5 separate regions of the Homo sapiens genome follow, and all the other regions are linked to region 3. Evidence: promoter capture Hi-C in 16 types of primary human blood cells and fetal thymus (Javierre and others, 2016). All regions are on one chromosome and are shown on one strand. Each heading gives the region's core, a stretch centred on a gene start or on the middle of the fragment in contact. The rest is flanking DNA. Distances are from core to core; before and after follow the strand shown.

Region 1 (2,700 bases), core at 31-2,530, 650 kb after region 3:
ATGCTCTTCTCTGTTGTGTGCACTCCTACACATCCCTGAGGCCCCAGCTCAGGACACTCCACTGAGGTCCCCATCATAGCCCCCTGGCAGAATTGACTGCCTCTGTGCTCCCTGCGTAGCGCATTTATATCTATTCTGCACAGATCTTGTTCTTTTACACAGTAGTCCCCCTTATCTATAGTAGATACCTTCCAAGCCCCCCAGTGGATACCTGAAACGGTGGACAAAACTGAACCCTGTATCTACTACGTTTTTTCCTATACATACATACCTATGATATAGTTTAACTTTATCAATTAGGCACAGTAAGAGATGAACAACAATAATAAAATAACAGCAATTATAACAATATGCCAGCATTGCTAAGCTTGCACTTTGGGGCCATTACTAAGTAAAATAAGGGTTACTTCAATACCGCCACGGTCGATCCGATCACCAAGCTAGCTACTAAGTGACTAAGGGCGGCTACTAGAGATAGGAGGCTGACCTTGGACAAAGGGGCATTCCGGTCCCAGGAATCAAGATTTCATCCTGCTACGCAGAATGGCCGGAAACTTAAAACTTAGGACTTCTGTATTTCTGGAATTTTCCATTTAATAGTTATGGACAAGAGCTGACCACAGGTAACTGAAATCGCGGATAAAGGGGGCTACTATCCGCAGTTCTCTAGTACTTGGGAGTTTCTTGCGACACTCATTTCTGCAACCGAGTGTCTCTCAACAAATCAAACTGTTCGGAATGTTTGGAATATTTTAAACGAAAGAATGCATTCAACAGGCAGTGCCCAACTCCCCAAGTTGGGATTCTCTCCTTGGATCAGTCTCTCCTGTTTACCCCCCTCCTCTCACCACCGGCTGCAGGGGGACCTCTCACTCCTTTCCTTCCCAGTCCAAATGCTGGGCGGTGGAGAGCCGCACTCGCGACAGACACCAGAACGCACCTTCGATAGCACATTCCTGCCCCACCTGCCCCTCAGCACCCGCTGCAGCCCCGACGAGGGTGGGGGTGGGAGGCAGCAATCCTTCAGGTCCTCGGCAGCCCTGCGGGCCTACCTTGTCCCCTTTGCTTAGGACCTGCCAAGGCCACGTCTCTACGCTTCCGAACAGCGAGTTCTTGATCATGCCCAACATGTTGTAGCCGAGACGCTCCCGACGCACGGGAGGACGTGAGGTGGCGGGGGCGACGGAGCACCACGGGCAGCGACCACCGGCGGCAGGGCGGCAGGGCGGCAGGGCGGCAGGGCGGCAGGGTGGCAGGGCGGCAAGGCGGCGGGACGGCGAGGCGGCGAGGCGAGAGGCGGGGCTAGAGGCAGGGGCCAGAGGGCGTGGCTAGAGGGCGGGGCGGCAATTCAGCCCGGCGGTGAGGCAAGGGGGCGGGACGGCGAGGTGAAGGGGCGGAGAGAGAGGGCGGGGCGGCGAGGCGAGGGGGCGGAGAGAGGGCGGGTCAGTGATGCGAAGGGCGGGCAGCAGGGCAGCAGTGCAGCAGTGCAGCAGTGCGGTGAGGCGAGGGTGCGAGGCGGCTAAGCAAGGGATGGGCCCGCCGTGGCGAGCCGCTGGGCCGTGTTCCGCCTCCTTTCGGGCTTTCCGCGGGTGTCTGGGGAGGGAACCCGGCCGCGGGCCTCAGGCCGTCCCCCTCCGCAGACCCCTTCTCTTATTCTGAGTCTAACCTATCCGCTGGGGCCCTGGAAAGCGATTCTCGCCTGGAGTGGCTTTAGGCAGCGGTGGTGGGGAACGTCCTCTCTCAGGTGCCTGGGCTCCAACCTCCGAGCCCCGGGTTGCTCACGCTTCTCCGGTCCTCTACCCGAAGGCTCGATCCCGCTGGTACAGCGGCGGCCAGGCTCCCTGTCTTGGTAGCTGTCCCTCTACCCCCGCCCCATGACCTCTTCTAGACCATTGAAAGAGCATCCAAACCACTTTCCTGCTGCCACTCTTTCCTACCATCCCTCTAAATCACAGTTTCCAGGTGACTTTTCTAAGCATGGCTTTTCTCGTTCACTCCTGTTCAAAAATCTTCTCACCAATTTTGTCACCATTTACTCAGCTGAGTGCCTGCTTTCTGTCAAGTATTTTACCAATAAATCTCTACTCCACACCACCGACAAGAAATATTTTGGAGCCATTTAAAAAGGAGGAAACGGAAGCTTCTGCCGCTGCCTGATCCTCCATTGCTCCGAGCCGCGCGGGTGCAGCGGGCTGTGGAGCCGCGGGCCGAGCCCCGCCGGAGCGCCCGAGAGCCCGCGCGTCCCGGGCGTCCGTCGGGGTCCGAGGTCCCTCCCTCAGGGAGTCCCCGCTCGGCAGCGCTCTCGCGTTTCACGCAGCGGCCGGGGATCTGGGACAGGCGGGGCCCCGAGGCCGAGCCTGGCGCTGCCCAGCGGCCGGTGCAGGCCTCAAGCTGGGCCGGGCGGAGGGGAACCGGCGAGTTGAAGCCCCGGGGCCGAAAGCCGGAGCCTGTGGCGGCCGCGGGGGTGGGGAGGGGGGTGGGGCGGCTTCTTGGGCAGCGCCACACGGCGGCGCAGTGATGGATGTTAACAGCAGCGGCCACCCGGACCTCTACGGGCGCCTCTGCTCTTTCCTCCTGCCGGAGGTGGGGGGCAGGCTGCCCGACCTGAGCCCCGACGGTGGCGCCGAACCGGTCGCGGTCTCCGGGACGCCGCATCTGCTGAGCGGGGGCCCCCGAGGTGACGGCCAGCCCGGCGCCCAC
Region 2 (2,700 bases), core at 95-2,594, 580 kb before region 3:
TTATCTTAAACCACAAGAGAATGTTTTTGAATTCAGAAGAACAGTGATATAGTTCGGTAATTTCATGAACCTCTTCCCTGGGAAACCTTATGACTCAACAGTCAAAGGTGTCCGAATAGTAAAGATGGTTTTCAGTGATCAGGTCTGTGCCCATGCCTGGCCTTGGATAGACTCTGAAATGAGATTCTTTGTTTGATTGATGGGGTGATGGTTTCTGTTGTGTACATTTGAAGGAAACCAGTTTCCCCACCCAAAATTTCTAAGGAGTTTAATCTTTGGGGTATAGGGGAGTTAAACTACACTGAGTCAAGGAAGTAATTGATTGCATATTTCCTCTAAAAGTCAGCTATGGACTTGATATTGACTAAAACAAACTAGCAGTTCTCTTCCACCACCAAGTCAGAGCGTCTGTTCACCATTCTGCATGATTAAAAGAACAACTAAGAATGGTAATGCTCCATTTAAACTTTCCTTGTGATTCTCTCTGGTCTACCTTCAATCAACAAAAGCCTAAAATTTTTATTTTAGAATCATGATGTTGGAAGATCTTTAGATTGCTCATACCATAAAGCTGTTTCTAAGATTGGTCTCGGGAAGGTCCAAGATCAGGATTGAAGTATGAAAAATCTTGGCCAGGTGCAGTGGCTCATGCCTGTAATCCCAGCACTTTGGGAGGCCGAGGCAGGTGGGTCACAAGGTCAGGAGATCCAGACCATCCTGGCTAACATGGTGAAAGCCCGTCTCTACTAAAAATACAAAAAATTAGCTGGGTGTGGTGGCGGACACCTGTAGTCCCAGCTACTCGGGAGGCTGAGGCAGGAGAATGGCGTGAACCCGGGAGGCAGAGCTTGCCGTGAGCCGAGATTGCACCACTACATTCCAGCTTAGTGACAGAGTGAGACTCCATCTCAAAAAAAAAAAAAAAAAAAATGAAATCTTGATCTTATTGCCTTGTCACCTTTTTGTCTTAAGTTTACTTTGTTGGTATAAAGAATTTTTTTTAATTCAGCAAGAGCTCAAAGAGCCATATATATATATATAAATTTTTTTTTAATTAAAAATCTTTCTGCTCAAGTCTCAACTACAGTGAGACTGAATGGAAAATGCAAAAGCTCTTGACATGATGTCGGAATGAACAAGATGGAGAGGTTGAATTTGAGAACATGGTTTCCTTATTGTGAAATTCCAGTTTCAGAACATTGGCACTGTCTGGTTCAAATATAAATACACATTATTTTATTGTAATCCGCTAGTTTAAATTGTTTATTCTGCTTATAAGGAAGAGATCCATGATAGCTGTGAACCCCTTTGAAGGAGACTTTATCCATGGCTCAGTCCAAGGTGTTTGAAGCACTTTTCTCATGGCCTGGCTGGAAAGACTTTCAGAAATAAGCAGGGTTCTGGTAGGAAAATGAAGGCAGTTGAGGAAAACAGTGCACATATTTGTAAGAGGACTATACTTGGTATCTTGGAAAACATAAACAGACCCTAGACTGTCTACCCCAAGTCTGGGAAGGCGGTCCTCTGAAGCTGAGGTTCTCCTGGAACTCCCTTCCACAGGGCTGCGTTGCAAATGCCATTGTGGAGGCATCACCCGATGTGGTGGACCTGAACATTGGGGAAATGCAGTGCTGCCTGCTGCTGCGCTGGCTGGCATCTGCCCTCCTCCGTCTCCTGGGTGCTGCCACAGAGAAGAGAGAGAGAGTGAAGCGGGCAGAGACTGGCTGTTGCCATCACACAACTGAGGGCGGACCTGGAGCTCAGCCGGCTGAGGGTTTGAGAGACCGTTGGGAGCAAGACCCAACCACAAGGCCCATGGAAGAGGAAGTTGGCAGATCTCAGAAAGGGGAGGAAAAGGAGAGGTGCTTATTTGTTCATCTTGTTTTTGCTTTTAAGGAAAGGAGGAGAGTTAAATGAGAAAGGAGGGCGAGTTGAGAAGGTTCTGAGCAGTTTCAGGTCCACGGTTGAGCAATGTTCTTCCTGGTCAACAAACTGCCTGGATTTCATTTTGGCCTGACAACAGCCCCACCACCTAGGGAACTGCACAGAGATCCTGTGTGTTAACCACGCAAGAGAGTCTGCAGTTAGAATACTGGGGCTTGTGCAGAGAGAAGAATTCAGAAAGTCAAAGGCTGGATGTAGGTGAAGAGACTATGGACTCTGCCTTCATGTCATCAGTTAAAGTGCCCTGCACACCTGCCTGTCCTAGGTCCTGTAGGGATGTGATATAACAAGCATGAGCTATACCTTAGTGTCTGTGTTCCAGAACTTTGTTGGCTCCCGAAGCACCTTTCCCTCCTCCCAAGAGGAATAAACAAATGTAAATAAATGGTGCCCAGGTTTTCATTTGGCTCACAAAAGATTATATAAAACTCATAGTCTGTCTGAAGTATGTTACCTGTAAACCTGTTTCAGCTAACCACCTTTTCTAGCACAATCAAGCTGGTAAAATACATGCCTGCACGCCAGCCACGGTACTGAGGACCACATCAAAACTGCTCCTTGAAGGAACTTGGAGAAAATGAACAACCAGCAACTTGTTAGCTGGTCTCTGAATGACAGAGGGTACTGCTTTAGATGTCCCCCAGGAATTCTGAGTTTATGCAGCAGAGGGACCGTAGCCCCGGGGTCAGGCAGGACAAGGGGATCAGACCTTCCTCTTGCTATGTGTGGATCATTATTCAGCTGAATGTCTCTAAT
Region 3 (2,700 bases), core at 147-2,646:
TTTCTATGCTAAGCACTTTATATATATCATGTCATTTAATCTTTACAGATCCCATTATTATCCTCATTTTAGTTAAAACTTACAAAAAGTTGTGGGACATAATATGTGCTTCTTTATTAACCTATTAAGTAACAAGTGGTCATCTAATAACTGCCATAATTTTGACGTGGTATTGAGTATAGATAATATTTTGAAACGTGCAACAAGTCATGTGATATAAAGATATCGGCAATATTTACAGGGGGCAAATCATAGCTACTGCTAATACTACTGTGGCTTTTGCCTACATTCCATTTCAGAAGTCGGTGAAATAATAATTTTTTCCACTCAAGTTCACAGACATCCTGAATTCTATCCATGGATACCTTATCGTGGACTCCCCAGGTTAATAATTCTGGCCAAGGTACTTAATACGCTGCCATATTTTGCAAGCCTCTAGGGAATCAAGAGAAAACCAGGCCAATACTTTATTTTGAATGGATTCTAATGTAGCCTCTTTTCAAGCTTTTGCAAAGAAACCTGAACTATGTAAGGAGATGGGGCAGGAGTTGTTTTCAGTATGCAGCATTGAGAGAAGTGTTTAAGAGTTTTATATCATTAAAGAGGCTCAGCAATATTAGGTTAGCGACGTTTTCTAATCCATTATTATTTAGGCTTTAAGGGCCTGAAGTCGAGTTGAATCTTGTTGAAAGACGGGGTAAAAGGATACAGGCGGGTGAGAGAGGATGCCCCTGAGTTTTAACGTCTGCATACAAGAGTCGCTAAAACTTACTCGCACGTAATTAGTTCAAATATTGGAAATCGTCTTACAGCACACTATAATTTACCAAGATGCTTATAACTGTATACACACACACACTCTACAGAGAATTAGACAATTAGCAGTTTCAATAATGAATACAGAGTCAACGACAAGAAAACAGGGAACATTTTCTCTTCCTTTGAGGAAATGCATGTTGCCTACTGAGCTATTCTTCTGCCTCTCCTTCTGATGTCAACGCAGAGCCAGAGCCATTTATGGCAGGTGCCTTGAGCCCGCCTAGAGGTCCCCTTTGGAATACTGCAGCGACTCAAGGATCCTGGTCAGCCCTTATTGGCCCCAGCTGGTCCTTTGGATGCTCGGGTGTGGGTGAAGGAGCCTCGGCCCCTGGAAAGGAGGGGACCGACTCTCTCCGCAGGTAGCGACGTCGCCTGCGGCCGGTCGGGGGTGGGTATTGGGGAGACCCCTTTACCTGGCGTCGAGAGGACCCCGGCGCCCCTGCTGCCATCCAGGTGCGAGGACAGCTCTGTCGCGCCCGCGGGAAGGACCGGCGAATCCGCGCGGGGGTCTCGGCGAGGACCGCAGCGGATGCTCCGCAGCTCCCGCACCGGCCTGGCGGGTTTTGTGGTTAGCAAGTTCCTGCTTCCGTCGCAGCGACGGCAAGTTTGCCGCGGGGGAAGGGCACGTTCCTGCCCTGCAACCCGGAGCTGCTTCCCGGCAACATTAGCGCGTCCCTCCCCGCGGAGGCTCCGGGCTCCCGGCCCCAGCGCTGAGCCCCGCAGGGAGGTGGCTCCCCCCACCGCCCCGCGCTCCCCCCCAGCTCAGCCACACCGCTGACCCCGGGCTGGGCGCGCTGCGAGGGGGAGTGCGTGCCTCCCTGCTGGTGGCCCGAGGGTCTGCAGGTGAGCCTTGCCTCGCGGCCCGCGCAAGTTAAAATAAATGCACATGGGGAAAATGTCAAACAGTACAAAAATAGACACAGAGACAAGTCTACCCCTCACCCCCGTGCCCCAGTCTCCTAGTCTCCCTCCTCAGAGGCAACCACTGAGAGCAGTTTTTTGATGTTCAAGGGCTTATAGTGCATCCTATTGGGGGCATAGTTCTGAGAATCCTCTTTCCATAATTGGAGGATGGAGTCCTCAATTAAAGATGGCAATTCTTGAGTTAAATATTATCTGCAAGACAAACTTCAGGGAAGGTATTTGGCTTTCTGCGGGATTTATTGTTTGTAGATAGGATAATAATGGTGAAAATGCTGGTGTCTGTAACATATATTAAAACTGTATCCCTAACACTTAGCATAGTGCCTGGTACACAATAGGTGCTCAGTAAATATTTAACTAAAATATTTTTGTTGACTGAATGAATGGAAAAGAACTGCATAGGGCATAGGTTGTGGAAGTTTCTAAATTACTGCTGGCCCCATCCCCACCTCCATAAACACACACACAAATGCAACGTTACTAAACCATTGACACTTAGTTTGCCATATGGTCTAACCTTTGACAGTATCTTCACCTCTGTTTTGAAAGAGCTTGCAGACCTGAAGCGCTATGCAATTGCAAGTTAAGTCTAGGCCTGTACGGCCAACAGCTACACACCCTAGTCTTAACCAATAACTACAGGAGGATTAGGTTGACTGAGAATGCTTGTGAACAAAGGTCCATTGTGTGAAACTAACTCTACTTGTAACCAAAGGATGACTCTTGAATTACAATGTTGCTAAAGCTAGGTTTGAAAGAGTTACCAAAGAAAAGTAAACACCAGAGTAATTTCCCATTGCAGTGATTTTCCTGATGCAACAAGGGACTGATCTGCAAGTGTGTTTTATCTTTTATCATCTGATACACTTCAGGGTTCAGGGTGTAGAGCTATCACAGTTTTTGAATCTCTCTACATGGGGTAATCCATGCTAGTTACAAAGTAGACCTTTCCATTAT
Region 4 (2,700 bases), core at 8-2,507, 630 kb before region 3:
AAAGTTTGAATGGTGGGAAAAGTCAGCTGTTAAAATGCTGTGGGATCTCTTTTTGAGCCTTTTCACCTGTGATCAAAGTTGTCCATCACCCTGGCATTTTTGAGAGCTGTAATTTAAGGAAGAAGGTATCATAGGTTACCTCTGTGGAAATTCTAGAATTTGAATATTATGCCCCTGCTCACTTGTAGACTGGGCTGTCACTATAAAGTTAGGCTGACTTGACTGTATCTGATAATTAGGGGCTGGGAGAGCATGGAAAATTGAAGCCATAGATAATCCCAGTGTCTTGTTTTAGCCAATAATAATTCTTCTCCCACCAAGTCTTTATCAGAACTGCTAACAAGGAGAAAAGTCGACTGGTTTGAGTTTCCTCACCTTTTATTCTCCCCTGGGTATCTTCAGTAGAGGTGCTAATGAACAGTGAAATGGCCAAAAGGTGAGCAGCTCCAGGGAGGAGAAGAAGGAGGCTCAGATAATCCACAAACTGTAATCGCTTTGAATAATTGAGTTAACTCCAGTAAAATGTAGAGATACATTCACCTGCTAGGCATTGTTGGAAGCTAAATTAACACACTGGAAGCAAAGCTTTCTTTTAAGTTTCATTTTTAATCTAATGGTGGACATTTTGGGGCACTGCAGCCTATTAAATCTGCTAACTGATGTTCAGACGTTATGAAGGAGTTAAACTATTCTAAGAATATTCAAGGCCTGTTGTTCTCTCCTAGGCTTTCTACGTCAAAGAGTAAAGTCAGAAAAGCCAAACTGATTTCTCCTAAAATGAAGAGAATTGAAGTTACTCTCCCAAACCCCAGTTGTAGGCCAGGCCCTAAACTGAGAGAAATGGACAACCCAAATATTTTGACCTTTGCCCATTGCCAGGTGAGGCCAGATCCGGGGAGGAAGTGATGTTTTCTTATCTGCCTTAACTTAGCCACTACGTGGAGAAGCACTGTAATGTAATTAATGCAGAGGTGCTCAAATTCTGGTGTTCCTCAGAATCACCTCAGGGGCTTTTAGAAACAGTTGCTGGGCCGTTCTCTCAGAGTTTCTGATTTGGTAGGACTGGGGTGGGACAAAGAATTTGCAAATCTGAGAAGTTCCCGGTTCCAGGGACCGCACTTTAATAACCACAGGTGAAACCAATGAGAAGCTGAGCTCCGAAGTCAGACTACCTGGGCTTGAATCTCAGATCTCTCACTTGGTAGTTGTGTGACTGGGTAGTTGATAGTTTACAGAATCTCTTTGTACCCTCGTTTTCTCATTTGTAAAATGGGAATCCTAATATCTCATAGGATTGTGAGTATTAAATGAATTAATATGTGATAAGCCCTTAGAACATTCCCTGCTCTATGGCAAGTGTGCATTGTAGGTTAGTATGACACGGTTATAGGCTCTCTGTAACAATGAATATAGTGACTGATATTTTTTGAGCACTTACTATAGGCCAGAGATTGACTCAGTACTTTGCAAGGATTATCACATTTAATACCCACAACGCACTCTCCCTCCTTTCCCATGTCCTGCTTGCCTTCTTTCTTCCACTTTCAGTTATTCCTTTTTCCCTTCCATTCTTTCTTGCTCTTCAAAAGCCATATTGTGACAAAATTAATCCATTCTAAATGAAAAAGAAAATGTACCTTAGTTATAAAGTATGACCTTTGTGAGTTTTTTCAGGACTGTTCACCTGTTCTTTGCCTTTTATTCCAGCGTGGTACCCGGCACATAGTAGGAGTTTGGTGAACATTAATTACTTGAATCTCGTTATCCTTAAAAATCAAACAGGGTTTATCTATCAGGGTTCCCTTCTCTTCCTTTGTCCTATCCTGGCCTCTCCTTGACCAACACATTGGTAAATTTGGCCTCTGCTCTTTCTTTTCCCCAACTGCAGGGGCCCACATGTCAAGACAAGGTGGCATCACCAACCATTGAGAAAGCTTTTATTTCACTAGCTTCTACCTGGACCACCCATCAAAAATCTTTAAAACGAGTATTCCTTGGGACAAGGCCAGGTGTCATTGAGAGTCCCCAGGAAGAGCATAGGAGTCCTGGTCTGGGAGGGCCGGACCTACACTCTCGGGGGTGCCCAGAGGAAGAACAGGGCCTTTAAAGTCACCCTATGTTCTCTGACCCGTGCAGTGGTGGCATACTCCCTCCCCCACCCCTGACCTGAGGGTGCTGTGTGTCAGCTCTCCTAACTCTTGGTCTCATTAGGGAAGCTGGTTGTCAAGTACTGCCCAGTTACAGTTGGTTTAAACTCTCAACTAAGGGATCGTAAGCAGGTCAGCTGCCTGAGTCTCCAGTTACTCTTGCAGCTCAGGTTTCCCCTTGACAGGTCCTGATAGGGGCTACTTTTGCACCATTGATGTGGCCAGGGCTTACAGCAAGGTTTAAGGTTTCCATGCGCAGCCTTCTTGGCAGGCAGCTCCCAGAGAAAGGAGTATGGTTTGGGAGAAAGCTGCAAGGCCTGTTCGTGGATCCTTAGTATTTTGAGCCGATCACGTGGAGTGGGCCTGTGCCCATCAGTACCAGGAGACTTTATACTTAGGGGAGAATCTGTATGCGGTGTGATTTTCAAGGGTCTATTTCCTCATTGTTTCTCTTTGCTTGCCCTATGGCTGAGTATTAAATGAACATTGAAAGTCTACTATATGCCGGTTACTCTGCTAGATACTAGCAGAGATGGAGGGTAGGATACAAAGA
Region 5 (2,700 bases), core at 177-2,676, 600 kb before region 3:
TAATGCTCTCTCTCTCTCTTTTTTTTTTTTTTTTTTTTTTTAATCTCACTATGCAAAGATAATACAGGTCTGGGTAAGAGGAAGACTTAAGATGCTTTGACTTAATTGTATCTGCTTGACAGAAGCAATATACTGCCTTCTGATTTTAGGATGTAACCATCCAGAAAGGCAGAAGAAAGGGACAATTTCAGTTCTAAACAGGAATCCGAATATCTCACGTCCTGAACCATCTACATAAACTAGAGAAAGGGCACTCCTTAAGACTGGTGAAGCGGGCTCCTTGGAAGATCCCCACAGCAACATTGAGTTTGGTTTGTCTGGCGTACCCTCTCCCCAAGGGCTGAGTGGGCCATCTGGGTAACCTAGAGAGGAGACTTCAGATGCTAGGAGTATAGTTCCTACCCATCCTCATTTTCACAGGGTACACTCATTTTTTTCCCCTTGGAAGTACTGATATGTATTCTGCAAGATGAATGTTGAGACCCAAACACCATTTGGCTTGTAAAAATTAATGGCTTAGCATCCAGAGGGATGTTGCTTTCAGGGCAGGGGGGACACTGGACACCAAGAAGAAAGCCAGCTTGGGCCCCTATACCATCTTGGATGTCTAAACCATCTTCTGGTAACTCTCTGGATGAAAAGAAATCATGAACTTCACTTCTGTGATTTGGTGGATGTGGATTTTGCTACATCAAAATTTGCATTTGAGTCTCTGTGGTGTTCTTTCTAGCCGAGATGCTAGGGTATGCTCTTTCTTTCTGGGGAGATTCCAAAAATGTTACTCTCTGTGGCTGTGTGTACAATGTCTATTTAGAAAAGAAGACTGGCATTTGCATCTTCTCTCAAATTCTTTACGTTTGTCTCACTGAATTTTGGAGTGGACAAAATATTCAATAGCTTTTTTCAAGTGAAAAAAATGTCGACTTTCAAGAGTGTATTACTTTAGGTTCTTGTGTATATCTGTGCTTTCCTGGTGGCAGAAACCTAGAAAACTCTAGAGCTCAAATTTCAGCGTATTCAATTTTTTGTTAATGTGTCTATAGCTTGTTAATAAAAGCTTACTTAATGAAAGCCAACATCACCACCACTTGAAATTTTTGCAGCCAGAAGAGTGTACTTAAATACTTGTGTATTCAGACTTCACTTTAATAAATTTCAATAAATAGCTTCCCATAGGAGAGGTTTCTTCTGTTGAATCTGTAGAAGTTGACGACGGTACAAGCATCAGCTTTCTCAGGCAGCTTTTCTAAACACCTGCAGGGTGGAAAAGAGATCCTTCTCTCAAAATACTGAATATTGCTGGCATGACCACTCTTGTCACTGGTGCCTGCTGTTTTCCATCTTATCTGGGTTGCAGGTTTCTTCACAGTGATGGGACACCGAAGTGCAATGGGATGAAAGCATGCCTGTGGCATTTTTACCCTAGCTGTGGGGAAATGACCACTATCCTGTGTCCATGACACTCTTCCTCCTCAGGACTTTCAAACTAGGCTTCAGAAGCCATCACTGGGGGCAGTCCTGGCATTTATAATGGGGATAGGGACAATTTCCAGGAAAAGTTTCTATATCAAGGACATCTCAGTTCTGCAGCAGAGAAATCTTTGAAATTACCTGCAAACCATCTTTTTGCAAGCACAACCAACTTTATTTCTGTTTTAATTAATTCCAAAAATGCTTTATTTCCAGAATGTTAATATTTAGTTAGCAGTAGGCTCTAAGTTTCCCAACCCCTCAGCCTTTTCAGAGGGTATAATAATAAATGTGTAAATGTGCTAGGGGATCCCCGTGATTTATGGAAGCTTTATATTGAATAATTTTGAAGAGGAAAGACCTTTTGGTAATAATATTCATTTTTTGACTCTTCTGTAATATGCAACCTGAGGGTGGGTGTGGGGGAACGTGGAGAAATGCCATTCTCCTACTGAGCACAGACTGTATACACCTATTTTACAGGGAAGTCACGGGCTCCTAAGCATTCAGTTTAAAAATGAGCAGAATTAGATGGGTACCCTTCATTGGCCCTTCATGGCTAGGGGAGAAATGGGAGAGGGAACGCAGCTCATTTTGGCTTCAGTCCTTACGCTTTCAAGAGACAACCCTACTCCATACTTCATTATTTTTTTTAAAGCTTTCTATAATGGTTGGTGAAATTTACATTTCAACTCTTGCCTACAACAGTTTTCTGCCTTATTTTCTCTTCCCAGCGCTTTGTGCCGCCTCCTTGACAACCTGCTCATAGGTATTACAATTGGCCTCAGAAATTGCAGTGCTTCCCTTTTGTTCAGCTGGTTGGCTTGATAGGTTGTATCTGCAAATTTGAGAGCAGCGTGTTTTATTTTTTACAGCATCTAAACAATAATGTAACCACATCACGGCATTCTGAGTCACATCATTGACCTCCACCAGCAGTTTATCCCCCTACAACACTTGAATACATTAATATCACTGTCTGTAGCATTTTAATTTAATTAGAGCAGCGGTTATAATCCTCTTGGGAAAATCGTTATCCCCCCCATACACACACACACACACACACACACACACACACACACACACACACACACACACACACACACACCCCTACTCCCCATAATGTTAAAAGAAAGAAAGCAGCTCTGGTTTTCATCTGTCTGACAATTTGCTTTAGAGGTGGGACTCTCACCACCACCCCCTCCTTTGTTGGGGTCGCACCAGAGAAGC

What was found. The method cuts DNA at HindIII sites, captures the fragments that hold promoters and counts their contacts. A CHiCAGO score of 5 or more calls a contact.
Region 1: a contact is called between the fragment with the promoter of HEBP1 here and the fragment with the promoter of MANSC1 in region 3, in 1 of 17 cell types (naive CD4 T cells). The highest score is 5.4, in naive CD4 T cells.
Region 2: a contact is called between a fragment that was not itself captured here and the fragment with the promoter of MANSC1 in region 3, in 1 of 17 cell types (neutrophils). The highest score is 5.7, in neutrophils.
Region 4: a contact is called between a fragment that was not itself captured here and the fragment with the promoter of MANSC1 in region 3, in 2 of 17 cell types (M1 macrophages and non-activated CD4 T cells). The highest score is 6.2, in M1 macrophages.
Region 5: a fragment that was not itself captured here is called in contact with the fragment with the promoter of MANSC1 in region 3 in 1 of 17 cell types (naive B cells); the score reaches 6.1 in naive B cells.

The regions. Positions count from the first base shown.
Region 1 is chr12:12,998,985-13,001,684 of GRCh38, forward strand. It overlaps HEBP1 (heme binding protein 1), which reads right to left and starts at 1,281. Exons shown (of 4, transcript NM_015987.5): 1 at 1,053-1,281. The coding sequence starts at 1,130. The region is part of intron 2 of GPRC5D-AS1 (GPRC5D and HEBP1 antisense RNA 1); the gene reads left to right. It also overlaps the pseudogene HTR7P1. RefSeq lists silencers at 1,146-1,295, 1,346-1,465, 2,226-2,375. The HindIII fragment of the contact is 1,773 bases long and covers 366-2,138 here.
Region 2 is chr12:11,772,283-11,774,982 of GRCh38, forward strand. All of the region lies in intron 2 of ETV6 (ETS variant transcription factor 6), which reads left to right. Among named protein-coding and RNA genes, the nearest start is that of ETV6, 120 kb to the left of the region's middle. The HindIII fragment of the contact is 2,933 bases long and covers 1-2,700 here.
Region 3 is chr12:12,348,846-12,351,545 of GRCh38, forward strand. It overlaps MANSC1 (MANSC domain containing 1), which reads right to left and starts at 1,397. Exons shown (of 4, transcript NM_018050.4): 1 at 1,233-1,397. RefSeq lists a silencer at 1,398-1,707. The HindIII fragment of the contact is 5,175 bases long and covers 503-2,700 here.
Region 4 is chr12:11,721,875-11,724,574 of GRCh38, forward strand. All of the region lies in intron 1 of ETV6 (ETS variant transcription factor 6), which reads left to right. It overlaps LOC124902879 (a long non-coding RNA gene), which reads left to right. Exons shown (of 2, transcript XR_007063212.1): 2 at 1-559. Among named protein-coding and RNA genes, the nearest start is that of ETV6, 74 kb to the left of the region's middle. RefSeq lists an enhancer at 2,381-2,600. The HindIII fragment of the contact is 1,349 bases long and covers 584-1,932 here.
Region 5 is chr12:11,746,773-11,749,472 of GRCh38, forward strand. The region is part of intron 1 of ETV6 (ETS variant transcription factor 6); the gene reads left to right. Among named protein-coding and RNA genes, the nearest start is that of ETV6, 98 kb to the left of the region's middle. The HindIII fragment of the contact is 742 bases long and covers 1,056-1,797 here.